2 separate regions of the Homo sapiens genome follow, and region 2 is linked to region 1. Evidence: promoter capture Hi-C in 16 types of primary human blood cells and fetal thymus (Javierre and others, 2016). All regions are on one chromosome and are shown on one strand. The core of a region is centred on a gene start or on the middle of the fragment in contact, and the rest is flanking DNA. Distances in the headings are between cores, read along the strand shown.

The links. Contacts are between HindIII fragments. The CHiCAGO score rates a contact against its expected background, and 5 or more counts as called.
Region 2: a fragment that was not itself captured here is called in contact with the fragment with the promoter of LINC00525 in region 1 in 2 of 17 cell types (total B cells and naive B cells); the score reaches 6.5 in total B cells.

The regions. Positions count from the first base shown.
Region 1 is chr7:47,758,032-47,765,286 of GRCh38, forward strand. It overlaps LINC00525 (long intergenic non-protein coding RNA 525), which reads left to right and starts at 3,445. Exons shown (of 3, transcript NR_038407.1): 1 at 3,445-3,482; 2 at 5,342-5,547. The HindIII fragment of the contact is 4,383 bases long and covers 2,442-6,824 here.
Region 2 is chr7:47,712,564-47,719,797 of GRCh38, forward strand. No RefSeq gene overlaps it. Among named protein-coding and RNA genes, the nearest start is that of LINC00525, 45 kb to the right of the region's middle. RefSeq lists enhancers at 2,636-2,715, 3,268-3,562 and a silencer at 3,268-3,562. The HindIII fragment of the contact is 1,365 bases long and covers 1,601-2,965 here.

The DNA of each region.
Region 1 (7,255 bases), core at 2,195-4,694:
ACACTGCATCAGAACATCTTGTTCCTGCAGGATGGCCCAGCCCTTCGCTGGCTGCCCTGCCGGCCACGGGACCGAATCACCATCACTCTCACCCACAAAGCTGCTTTTGGAATGCAGGCATTTCATGGTGTGGGAAGACAGTATTTTTACACTTTTCTCAGAAATTGGTCAAATTCTTTTTGCTCCCTGCTATTTTTCCCCTTCTCCCTCTCCCCTTTCCCTTTTCTTCATTCCAGCAATAGCTAGATCTCTACTGCACCCGAGAAAGGACATGACAGTGGCAAAGCAAAACAGTAAACAATCAACAACAAAACTCCTGAGCCCAGCTGGCTTTGATTTCCCAAAGCAAATCAGTCAAGTAATTAAGAAGGCATGAGAAAAACAGAAACACACACACACAATCTTTACTACCTGTGGGGAGGATTGTGAGGGAAAAAGAAAAATATATTCCTCTGTACCCCATGGGTTATGGAAGGAAGTGACAGATGTGAGGAGTGTGTGAGAGACAGAGACAGAGAGACAGAGACAGAGATAGAGAGACAGAGAGACAAAGACAGGAGGGACAGAGACAGACAGAGGAAGACAGACACAGAAATAGAAAGAGAGACAGAACAGAGAGAGACAGGCATAGACAGAAGTGTCTCCTGAGGTTGGGCCTCTGAGTCCTGCTCTCTGGGGAGTACTCTAGAAAAATGGCAAGATCTCAGGGACCTTGGTGTGTAGATGACTGATCGCCAAAGCAGGAGCTCTGGTCTTAGGCCAGATACACTGAAGCAGCCAAAGAGTCAAGTTTCCCTCTGGGCCGTGCCCTGGGGGTGCAGGGGTATATGAAAAGCTGCAGCTGGGTGCAGTGTTCCTCTAGGGCTCAGGAGAAGTGACAGACAGAGAGCCCAGGAAGCACCCACAGCCTGGGCCTGGCGCGTCCATTGGTGTGACCAAGACCTACATACAGAAAGGTGAAGGTGCACAATGAACTCAGACTTTATCTGAATAGGGGTAAGATCCATTTCAAAATTGGAAGTGGGGCTGATTTGAAAGAATCTATTTTATGAGGATAAACTGATGATGAGATAAATTCTATAGATAGGGTTTTCCTTGACTTCTAAGAGAATAGATACACAGAAGGTAATTATTGAGTTAGAGTTGTCTTTTGTTTCTAAGAAAATGATAAGACAATTTATATTTTTCACAGCCTTGCTTTCTTGCTCCACCAGGGGTCACAGCTGATCTTACACATTTCGGGGTGTGGGCACAACTTCACCACTCTTCCAGGGACCAATGTAAAGCCACCCTGGCACCACCCTTTGCTTACTGAAGATTCCCCCACCAAATCCACGTGCTACCTGTGCCTCATCCATCACTGGTTAATTACTCTGATTAAAATAAAGCAGTGATTTGATGTTTCCAAGGAGCTTCATTAGAATGAGAAAAAATTATATTTACCAAGGAAAGGAGGAAATGGTTGAATAAAAAATATGACAAGTAATTTAATTTTAGGTCAATGAATGCTCCACTGTGATTCAATTCTGACACATGAAACAAATAATGAGATGATCAAGCCCTCTTCTTCCTTGCAGAAACTCGCTAATCCATATGAATGGTCTGTTGTTCACGAGCATCTGGTTCCCTTAACAACCTGTGGCCTGTTTACTCCATGGGGAGAATCTGGTCCTCAGAGCAGCTTTAGGGTCCATGCACCTTACTGGACATCCATAATGCACCACAGAGTGTGGTGCAGCAATATGCCATGTGAGGATTTTTTAATCCTTGAAAAGTTGGGTGAAGAGGATAAGATTTTTCGTATAAGATAATACAGGCTTCAAAAAGTTGGAAAAAGAGCACATTTAGAAAGTCCCAGAGCTGGGATTTGAACCCCTGTGCTTCTGATTCTAAATTGCTTCCCACCACGCTCATGGTGACCTCTAGAAGGTGTTAGTGAGGTGGAGATGTACCCGGTAATCCTGCCAGTGCATCTGTGCACTGATTCTCTATTGCTGGCTGTCCTTCTTGGCATCTTATTCAACAATAGCTACTGTAAGGGGGGAAATAGTCTTATATTTTGTGAAAGAACTCAAATGGCCAATTCATATATGGCCAGTTTACTTAAGAATGAATTACCGACCGGGCACAGTGGCTCATGCCTGTAATCCCAGCACTTTGGGAGGCTGAAGCGGGTGGATCCCCTGAGGTCAGGAGTTTGAGACCAGCCTGGCCAACATGGCAAAACCTCATCTCTACTAAAAATACAAAAATTAGCCGGGTGTGGTGGCTGGCACCTAAAATCCCAGCTACTTGGGAGGCTGAGGCAGAAGAATTGCTTGAACCCAGGGGGCGGAGGTTGCAGTGAGCCCAGATTGTGCCACTGCACTCCAGGCTGGGCAACGGAGCAAAAACAAAAAACAAAAAAGAATGAATTACCAGGCTCTAAAAACCTATCAGTAAGCTTTTTTTTTTTTTTTTTAAAGACGGAACTTGATGCTAAGGAAATTGCAACAACACAATGTCCTAATACACTGTTGACAAGATTAAAAAATTTTTTATTTTTAATTTTTGTGGGTACACAGTAGGGGTATATATTTATGGGGTACGTGGGATGTTTTAATACAGGCATGCAATGTGAAATAGGCACATCATGAAGAATGGGGTATCCATACCCTCAAGCATTTATTCTTTGTGGTATAAACAATCCAATTATACTTTTAATTATTTTAAAATGTACACTTAAATTATTATTGACTATAGTCTCCCTGTCGTGCTATCAAATAGTAGGTATTATTCATTCTTCTATTTTTTTTTTTGGTACCCATGAACCATTCCCACCTTATCTCCCCAGTCCTCTACTATCCTTTTCAGCCTCTGGTAATCATCCTTCCTATTCTCTATGTCCATGATTTCAATGGTTTCGATTTTTAGATCCCACAAATAAGTGAGAACATGTGATGTTTGTCTTTCTGTGCCTGGCTTATTTCACTTAACATAATGTCCTCCAGTTTCGTTCCATCCATGTTGTTGCAAATGACAGGATCTCATTCTTTTTATGGCTGAATAGTACTCCATTGTGTATATGTACCACATTTTCTTTATCTGTTCATCTGTTGATGGACTGTAAATTTGCTTCTAAGTCTTAGCTATTGTGAACAGTGCTGCAACAAACATGGGAGTGCAGATATCTCTTCAATATACTGATTTCCTTCCTTTTGGGTATAGACCCAGCACTGGGATTGCTGGATCATATGCTAGTTCTATTTTTAGTTTTTTGAGGAACCTCCCAACTGTTCTCCATAGTGGTTGTACTAATTTACATTCCCACTAACAATATACTAGTGTTCCCTTTTCTCCACATCCTCACCAGCATTTGTTATTGCCTGTCTTTTGGATAAAAGCCATTTTAACTGGGGTGAGATATCTCATTGTAGTTTTGATTTGCATTTCTCTGATGATCAGTGACGATGACCACCTTTTCATATGCCTGTTTGCCATTTGTAAGTCTTCTTTTGAGAAATATCTATTCATTTCTGATTTTTTATTTGGATTACTAGATTTTGATTTCTGATTGGATTACTAGATGTTTTCCTGTTGAGTTGTTTGAGCTCCTTATATATTCTGGTTATTAATTCCTTGTCAGATGGGTAGTTTGCAAATATTTTCTCCCATTCTGTGGGTTGTTTCTTCACTTTAAGAAGATCATTAATTGCCTTAATCATTCTAAAAAGTGATTTGGCAAATAAGGGTTGAATTGTGTCCCCCAAAATGTCTATGTCCAAGTCCTAACCCCTAGTACCTCAGAATGCAACTGCATTTGGAAACAGGGTTTTTGAAAATGTGATCAAATTAAAATGAGGTTATACTAGAGTAGAGTGGGCATGTAATCCAATATGACTCATCCAATATGACCGGTGTCCTTATAAAGAAGAGGAGATTTGGCTGGGCATGGTGGCTCATGCCTGTAATCCCAGCACTTTGGGAGGCCGAGGTGGGTGGATCACCTGAGGTCAGGAGTTCAAGACCAGTCTGGCCAACATGGAGAAACCCTATCTCTACTAAAAATACAAGAAAAAAAAATAGCTGGGCATGGTGGCAGGCACCTGTAATCCCAGCTACTTGGGAGGCTAAGGCAGCAGAATCGCTTGAACCCGGGAGGCAGAGGTTGCAGTGAGCCGAGATTGCGCCATTGCACTCCAGGCTGGGCAACAAGAGTGAAACTCCATCTCAAAAAAAAAATTAATAAATACATAAAAAATAATAAAAAGGGGAAATTTGGACCCAGACATGCCTGGAGGGAAGATGATGGGAAGAGACACAGAGAGAAGATGGTTGTCCTCAAGCCAAGGAGAGAGGCCTGCAACAGATTCTCCTTCAGCCTTTAGAAGGAACAACACTGCCAACACCTTGATCTTAGACTTCTGTCCTCCAGAAATTGTGAGACAATGCATTTTTGTTGTTTAAGGCAACCAATTTGTGGAACTTTGTTCTGGCAGCCCTAGCAAATGAATACAACAAAATATATACTGTATTGAGAACCTTAATATTGGCAATACCATTTGCACAGGAACTCCTTGCCTTTGGTTGCCACCTAAGAAATCATGCATATGGACATGGAATTACACATAAAGTATATTTAGCTAGTTTTTCTTCAACATGCTATTGCAGGAGGACAATTCAAAAATCTTTCCAACTCCCACCTGATTTCTGAAGGTTCTCTGGGAGCCTGCGCATCAGCCATCAAAACACACTTGTCACATTTTTCTTTCCTTTTGGCCTCCTTTAGTGAAGTCAGCTGCCTGAGGCTGGGCGGAGGTGCTCAGCACTCCCTCTGGTTTGTGGGGGGCTGGGGTGGGTCACACTTATTCTACTGGATATCACTGTTCCTGGGCCCTGCCACCACTCTCAGCCCTGGTGCTGTGGATTCTGTTCATGAGAGGGGCTGAAGTCAAGCCTCCCTCTCAGGCCCAGATCTGAGTCTACAGGTCAGCCGGGGCTGGGGCCTCACGGTAGCAGGTGGTGACAGAGGACATGTCATTGTCGCAGTCACTGAGGACACTGGTTCTCATAGCCCAGCCTCTGTGCCTGGACCTCAGCTATAGGCCTGGCCCCATTGTGCTCTCCCTGATGAGAATCTCCAGGCCTTGAGCTACCTGACTCTTCCCAGTTGGCCAGACACATCCCAGTGAATGATCATCATCCTGCTCTCATCTCATAGCCAGCTGATCAGTCTGTTCACCCTCCACCTACTCAAGTACAGAGTGACACACCCCAAGCAACAATCGCATGAGAAATTCTACCACCTGGGGAGGGCAGAACTGGGACAGACTTCTTTCATTTTCTGATCTGCTTTTGCCAGATGTCCTCTGTAGCAAGAGGCAGGACAAACAGTGAGGACTGCACCAACACTCACCGGGTGACCCCTTTGCTTTGGAAACTTACTCAGGGTGAAAGGAATTCCGATTTTAAACAGCATCTCTTTGTGTGGCCTGTTTGAGGCACCACACAGAGCTTGCTGGAGCAGCTCTGTTGACCGCTGACCCTTGGCCTGCTAACTGAAACAAGGTGAGTATTTCTAAGGCTGTCGTGGCCACGGGAGGACCGGAGAATAAATGTGGACCTATTTACATTCTCTTTTCCCTGAAGGTGATAAATGGCTTCCCCCATCCAAACCAGGCCCCTCTAGGGCCTTTATTTGCTATTCTGGTTTTAAAAGGCAGACGGAGAATGTATTGAGTTATCTTTCAACTGTTTACTAGCAGAAGGGCAAAGATCAGATTACCAGCTCAGAGTGATTCATCTTTTCTCCCAAATCAAAGCCATATGTACACAGAGTCTGTGTACACATTAGTTCATTTCATTCATTCATCTAGGTCAGGAGAGGGAGACCTGGGACAAAGGTCCCGCAGAAAGAGATGGAGGCATCAGGCCACAGACAGTGAGCAGCATGGGTTTTTCTCTGCCTCCACATTAGGACTTTAATGTTTTTTTTTTTTGTTTAAAAAAAACAAAACTGCCTGATTTCCTGTCAGGCCAACTAATGATGTTTTTTCCCCAGGTTTCTGGTATAGAGGATGTTTTAATTTGAGAGAAGTTTCCACCTACAAAAACACATATTTGTCCGGGCATGGTGGCTCACGCCTGTAATCCCAGCACTTTGGGAGGCTGAGGCAGGAGGATCATGAGGTCAAGAGATCTAGACCATCCTGGCCAACATGGCGAAACCCCGTCTCTACTAAAAATAAAAAAATTAGCTGGGCATGGTGGCGCATGACTGTAGTCCCAGCTACTTGGGAGGCTGAGGCAGGAGAATCTCTTGAACCCCGAGTTCAGAGTCAGTCAGTTGAGATCGCGCCACTGCATTTTAGCCTGGTGACAGAGCGAGACTCCGTCTCAAAAAAACAAAAACAAAAAACCACATTTATACCTTTGGAAACATTAAGCCTCCAACTGTGAGAACGAAGATTCATATTTAAAGGGAAATGTGAGGTAATTCTGTGAATCTTAGACAGATTGATGGTACAAAATGGGAAGCGCCACCATCACTGATATTCTGAAATTATGGTTGACTGCAAATATCCAGAAAAGCATAAAAACAACATAATGAACGCCTATATTCTCACACACAAAACTGTAACATTTTGGCAGATTTTCATCAGCTCTTTTTCCTTAAGAAACAACACACACAAGGATCATGGAAGCCTCTCCATGCTTCCCACCCTGTCCTTAAACTGATGTTTTTCATCCCCAGAATGACGCTACATTAATGCTACAGATGAATGGCTCCATAAACTATATATAGCAAAGTATTGAACTTTTGTTGATTACATCAGTCTCTAACAAGCTTTTTTCACTGAACATTATGTTTTTGCAATTTGATAATGCCAACAGATGTAGCTACATCCATTTAACTAGTGTATTGCATTTTATTGTTACCAAACCGAACTTGGGTCCACCCATCCTGGCACAGCAAAGCCAAACACTGACAGTGGGATTTGCAGTGAAAAAAGTGAGGCATTTATAACAGGGCACCAAGCAAGGAGAACCGGATAGCTCTCGCCTAGGACCTAAACTCCCGAATGGCTTGAGTGTAAGGGTTTTTAAAGGTGGGAAGGCAGAAGTTACATGCAAAGTCATAAATCAATACATGGAGGTCTTACATTGGTTTGGCCAAAAAAGGTGGGATATCTTGAAGTGTGGGGCGAGGCACAGGTCATGGGTAGATTCAAAGATTTTCTGATTTGCGAATTGGTTAAGGGAGTGAAACTTTGTC
Region 2 (7,234 bases), core at 1,033-3,532, 47 kb before region 1:
TTGAGGCATCACAGTTGTCTTCATAAGCATAAAAGCCATAAACGCATTAGGCGACAAGCACTGCGCGCATACTCAGCCCCCCGCGCTCTCTGCTGCTTCTCGGCGCTTCAAGTTGACCTCTCCTGGGAGCAGGACCTTCCAAATGGAGGACTAAGGAAAGAATGTGAGAAGGGCTGGAAAGAGCTGTATTCTAAAATATCTATAAAGTGCCTTGAAAATTGCCAGGAGACATTGCTTGGGAAACCCTGACTTCAATTATGTCCCTACACTTCATAGCAGCTTGACTGCAAACTATCTTGGCTAAATTAAAACCTTCAAAGGAAATTCCTTAAAGTAAACATAAAAAGGTCATCTTTAAATGCACAAGAACTAAAATATTTGAGGTTTAGGAGCCCCAAAGTAGATGATACATCGTATATTGTCAATAGCCCATGGGACGTTTTATTTTAAAAACGCTTCCACTTCAACTTCAAGGGGTACGGGTACAAAGTAGGTAACCTGATAATTCCAAAAAATCCAAAAAGAAAGAAAAAATTTCCCCGTCAACAGCGATCACAGAAGTTCTATTTGAAACACTTAAAAAGATTAATTTAACAATCTTAAAATAACTCATCTAATACTGGTGGTAGTGTGAAGTAGTTATCCTCATGAGTTGCTCACACTGCAATTTGTAGGAGGCATTTTAGAATGCATGTGGCAATATCTGTCCCAAACTATATTTTATTTTCCCTGGCCCAGGAATCAAAATTCTTTTTTTTTTTTTTGAGACGGAGTCTCGCTCTGTCACCCAAGCTGGAGTGCAGTGGCGGGATCTCAGCTCACTGCAAGCTCCGCCTCCTGGGTTCATGTCATTCTCCTGCCTCAGCCTCCTGAGTAGCTGGGACTACAGGCACCCGCTACCACGCTTGGCTAATTTTTTTTTTTTGTATTTTTAGTAGAGACAGAGTTTCACCGTGTTAGCCAGGATGATCTCGATCTCCTGACCTTGTGATCCGCCCTCCTCGGCCTCCCAAAGTGCTGAGATTACAGGCGTGAGGCACCGCGCCTGGCCAGGAATCAAAATTCTAAGAGTCTATCCTAAGGAAATATTTCAAAAGAGGGAACACTTTAGAAGCAGCATAATTCTCCTTGTAGTATTTTATGCTTGAGGAAGAAGACAATCACCTGTAGTAGGGGTTGGCAAACTATGTCCCACAGGCCAAACTGGCCTTCCGGCTGTTTTAGTGAATAAAGTTTTATTAAAACACAGCCACGTTTGGTGGCTCGTTTATGTTTTGTTTTCACACAATCACAGCAGAATCGAGCAGCTGGAACAGAGGCCATGTGGCTCCTAAAGCTGAAAAATATTTACTACCTGGCCTCTTTTGTGGTACTGAGCTTTGAATCCTGAATTATGATATCACTCTATTCATCAAGTTATTCTCTTTATAGCCTTCTGTAAATCTTAAATTTAATCCTAGATATTTCAGATTTTTTTTGCTGTTGTGAGTAGAATACTTATTAAAAATGATATTCTCTTGCTAATATTGAAAAAGCTTTTGATTTCTAAATATTTATATTATAACCGACCACACTCTGAATTCTCTTATTTCATCAATTAAGCTTTACTTGATTCTCTTGATTTTTTTTTTTTTTTTTGAGATGGAGTCTCGCTCTGTTGCCCAGGCTGGAGTGTAGTGACATGATCTCAGGTCATTGCAAGCTCTACCTCCCGGTTTCACGCCGTGCTCCTGCCTCAGCCTCCCGAGTAGCTGAGACTACAAGCGCCCGCCACCACGCTTGGCTAATTTTTTTGTATTTTTAGTAGAGACAGGGTTTTACTGTGTTAGCCAGGATGGTCTCAATCTCCTGACCTCGTGATCCACCTGCCTAGGCCTCCCAAAATGCGGGGATTACAGGCGTGAGCCACTGCGCCCAGCATCTCTTAAGATTTTGTGTAGATATTTTAAATTAGTTTTAAATAATTAGTTTGTAATAATTTTAATTAGTTTATCTGGAAGTAATAAACTAATAGTTTACCCCCTCACTTCCAGTATTTTTCTTTCATCTTCTTATCGTACTGAATCACTTGCTATTTCTAGGTCAGTGTTAGATACCAATAGTGAAGATGAGTACCATTCTGCTAATTTTGAAATAGCCTTGACCTAGTTACTCAGAAGTCAGGAGCCTGAAGCTAGCCCTGAAAATCCTGATTGCAAAGAGTTTTATATTCCCCTGAAGAAATTCCTCCTGATCAGCTCACTCCACACAAGGCAGCTGCACACAGAGCAACTGAGACATCCATGCTCTGAGCAGAGTTCCGGGTCAGCCCTACCTGGGCCACTGGGGAGGAAGCCATGAATTCTTTCTGCTCTCTGATCACTGGGATGTTGGTTCCAATGCTTAAGATTTCCCCCCCAGGCACATAAAGACAGGTGTGAGGAATACAAATTTCAGAAGCTAAATAAACCAAATAAAACATTTTAGTCAAAATATGAGGTAAGCACCCACAGTACGGAGGGTGAAAACATCTGTGCTTTGATAGACAGGTTCTGTTTCTGTCCTATCTCCTAAAATCTCAGTGACACTGGCACGCCTTCTCTGAGTCTCAGTTCTCTCAACTGTAAAATGAGAAATAATACCTAAACTCTAGAGTTCTTGCAAGAATTAGAAATAATTCGTAAGTATGGTTTGTAGGAGATATTGAATATATAATTAGTAAGTATCACATGTAGGAAATATTGAATAAATCCTCATAAAACAGCAGCAATAACCATCAAAACTTTCTCGGCAATTTGAGGAAGTTCCATTGGGTGCTGAAAACACAACTGTCCTTTGAACACAAGGATTGACTGTGGGGGAGATGCTGTGGTCTTGGATGGTTGTCATTTGCATAGTTTCTCTTTCAGGTTTCTTTCCTTCCAGCCATGCAGACCAACATCCAATATGATCACAGCAGATGCAATCTCAGTCTTTACTTAAAGTAAGCTTCCTTTGCTACAGAAAGGCCTAATCTTTTCCATTCATTTTTTGTGGACCACCACAGTGCGACACCCCCACCCCAACCCAAGTAGGCACATGACAATTGTGAAGTAACCAGAGGTCATTGGTTGTGACCCGCGGGTAGCCATTTTGACCCATGAAGGCCCTGCGTGGGGCAGGGCAGGTTACATGTCAACATATACTTCTGGAAAGTGCTTGATCATATGTTCAACTAAGAAACCATTGGCACCTCCTCTCATCCCATGCCTAAGTCCTTTCCTCAGCATGCTCTGTTAGGGAGACCCCACCTATTTTGTCTCTGCCTAACAATCATACATGGGGGCCTAATGTCCCTGGTGTTACAGATTAATGTACAACATTGTCACCCCTGCTAAAGAAGGACTCGCTGGGCTTCCCATCTGTAAACAAGAAGGCAGGGCTTGCATGCATGAAACACAAGGACCCTGGACTTGGTGCAAAGGGCTCTGACTTGGTGCCCGGCTCTCCAGCTGGATCTAGGCCTGTCCTTTAATTTTCATGTCTCAGATGTCTAACCCGAAAAAGGGGAGAGAATTCCAATCATTACTCTGTGTGGAAAAAGTAAAGCGTCTCTTTTTTGATGGGATCTTTATCCATTAATAATTTAGTTGGACTAAATTATTTACATTTAACTTGTTAAAGGTCTATTTATTTATATATTTTTAAATTTTTATTTATTTATTTTTTTGAGATGGAGTTTCTCTCTTGCTGGAGTGCAATGGTGCGATCTGGGCTCACTGCAACCTCTGCCTCCCGAGTTCAAACGATTCTCCTGCCTCAGCCTCATAAGTAACTGGGATTACAGGCACCTGACACGAAGTCCGGCTAATTTTTGTATTTTTAGTAGAGCCGGGGTTTCGCCATGTTGGCCAGGCTGGTCTTGAACTCCTGACCTCAGATGATCTGCCTGCCTCGGCCTCCCAAAGTGCTGGGATTACAGACGTGAGCCACCGCTCCTGGCCCTATTTATTTTTTTAACCTAATGACCTAATAGCACTTAATAAATAAATTTATTGTCTATTGATGATTCCTAATACATAAGCCATTAAAATCCATCCTGGAAGAATGCCAAATATTATTCCGAATTAAAATAGAAAGTAAGAAATATCGGGGTTTGGTGCAGTGGCTCATGCCTGTAATCCCAGCACTTTGGGAGGCTGAGGCAGGTGGATCATGATGTCAGGAGTTTGAGACCAGCCTGGTTAACATGGTGAGACCCGGTCTCTACTAAAGATACCAAAAATTAGCCAGGCATGGTGGCGTGCACCTGTAATCCCAGCTACTCGGGAGGCTGAGGCAGGAGAATCGCTTGAACCCAAGAGGCGGAGATTGCAGTGAGAGGAGATTGCTCCATTGCACTCCAGCCTGGGCGACAGGGCGAGACTCCATATTAAAAAACAAAAACAAAACAAAACAAAACAAATATCAAGCTTTGTAAAAGTGAAAAAAATCCTTGCAACTATTCACAGTTTGTCATATGTGTAGGGGATAAGTATTGAAGTGGGCAAAATATTTTCTCTCCCTTTATTTAATCATCACAATTACTCTACAAGGCAAAAGCAATTAGAACAGTGTCTGGGCCAGAAATAAATCTGTATATCTATGGGAAGTTGATTTTAAATTAGAGCACAAAGACAACTCTTTTTTTCTCAACAAATGGCTCTAGGACAACTGAAATCCACATGCAAAACAGTGAAGCTAGACTCAAACCTCACACCATATACAAAAATCTACTCAAAAATGGATCAATGACCTACACGTAAGAGCTAAAGCTATAAATCTCTTACAACAAAACATAGGACTGAATCTTCCTGACCTTGGATTTAACAGTGGTTTCTCAGATATGACACCAAAAGCACAAACAACCAAAGAATAATAGATAATTTCAGTATTCAGAATATAAAAAGAACTCATACAACTCAACAATAAAAGGACGAATAACCTAATTAAAAATATACAAACTGAATAGACATGCCTCCAAATAAGATACACAAATGGCCACTAAACACACGAAAAGATACTCAACATCCCTAGTCTTTAAGAGAATTAAATCAGTACCACAATGAAATACCATTTCACATTCACAGGATGGCTGTAATCAGAATGACAGACAACAATAAGTGTCAGTGAGGAAGAAGAGAAATTGGAGCACTCCTACAAGGCTGGTGGGAATGTAAAATTGTATAACCACTGTGGAAACAGTCTGGAAGTTAAGCATATAATTACCCTACAGCCTAACAACTCTGCCCCTAGGTTATATACCCAAGTGAATTAAAAACATGTTCACACAGACCGGGCGTGGTGGCTCATGCCTGTAATCCCAGCACTTTGGGAGGCTGAGGCGGGCGGATCACGGGGTCAGGAGATCGAGACCATCCTGGCTAACAAGGTGAAACCCCGTCTCTACTAAAAATACAAAAAAATTAGCCGGGCGTGGTGGCGAGCGCCTGTAGTCCCAGCTACTCAGGAGGCTGAGGCAGGAGAATGGTGTGAACCCGGGAGGTGGAGCTTGTGGTGAGCCGAGATCACGCCACTGCACTCCAGCCTGGGTGACAGAGCAAGACTCTGCCTCAAAAAACCAAAAAACAAAAACCAAACAAACAAAATGTTTACACAATAATTTGCATATGAGAGTTTTTAGTAGCATTATTCATAATAGCCAAAAGGTGGAAACAGCTCACATGTCCATCAGCAGATGACTGGATCAACAAAATGTGGCATATAGGTGCAATAAAATATTATTCAGCCGTAAAGAGGAATGGAGTATTGACACGTGCTGCAAGGTGGGTAAACCTTGAGAACTTTATGTTAGGTGAATGAAGCCAGATCCAAAAGACCATGTTTAATATGATTCAATTTATATTAAGTGTCCAGAATAAGAAAATTCATAATGACAGAAAGTAGGTTAATTTGTCATTGCCAGGAGGTGGGGGTAGGTGATGAATTGGGTGCAGGATTACTGCTAATGGGTACAGGGTTTCTTCTAGGGTGATGAAAATGTTCTGGAATTAAATCATGATGATGGTTTATAAACACGCTTTAAAAAGCCACTGAATTGTACACTTTACAATGGTAAATTTTATTACACGTGAATTTTCTCAATTTTAAAAATAAGTGCCTGAAACCCAGGGAGCACCTGGTAAGTGACGACTATTGTGACTATTAAATCCTGTCACCAGCCGCAATTTACACATGACGAACCATCTCTGAGGGAAAAGGTGCCTCACCTAGGGGCACAGGGCTGGATTGCACTGCTTCCAAAACCCACCAGTTAACCAAGATACCTTACATCTCTTCAGGATTCGTCTCTTCAAATCCTGCCAGTGACTTCCAACCCAGAGGGAGAAGGAGAAGGTAATATGCTGAGCAAAGAAATGTGTCTGATGAGAGTATGGTTTCTGTTTATTATATAGACAAGTATGACAGCATTTACATTTGCACATCTTCCTCTGTGATTAAGCATTACATGTTGTCTTCATGTAGCATTGTTGACCAACCTCCATTCAGAATGAAGTTTAGAGAACACATGCGGCTTCTTGAATCTGAGAAAGTGTTACTATGATTGTATTCCAAAGCTCCTACGAGCTTAGCATCGCCCTCAACCTTTGGAGTTGGAGAGAATGTGGAAGTTCTGGGTACACTGTTAAGTACTCCATAATGGCGAATTCCAGCAGTCATAGTGATCACCGAAAGGTCCTAATAGTAAGGCGTAGAAGTGGTGAGAGATTGGAGCCCTTGTGTTGGGGGGCAGGGAACATGAAATAGTGTGTCCACTGTGGAAAACAGTATGGAAGCTTCTCAAAATATGAAAACTAGAATTACCATATGATCTTGTGAGTCCATGCTGGATATACATGCAAAAGAATTGAAATCAGGGACTCAAGCAGATACTTGCATACCTGTGTTCATGGCAGCATTATCCACAGTAGCCAAAGGAGAAACAGCCCAAATGTCCTCCAGCAGATGAATAGATAAGCAAAATGTAGTATATGCATACAATGGAGTGTTATTCACCTTTGAAAAGAAAGGGAATTCTGTCACATGCTATGACACGGATGAACTTTGAGGACATTCTGCTACAGGAAATAGGAAATAGCCAGGCACAAAAGGACAGATACTGCATGATATTTAAGGAACCCAGAATAGGGACCTAGAATAGCTAAATTCATGTGACAGATGTAGAGTGGTCAAATTCATAGAGACAGAAAGTAGCGTGGTGGCTGCCAGGGGCTAG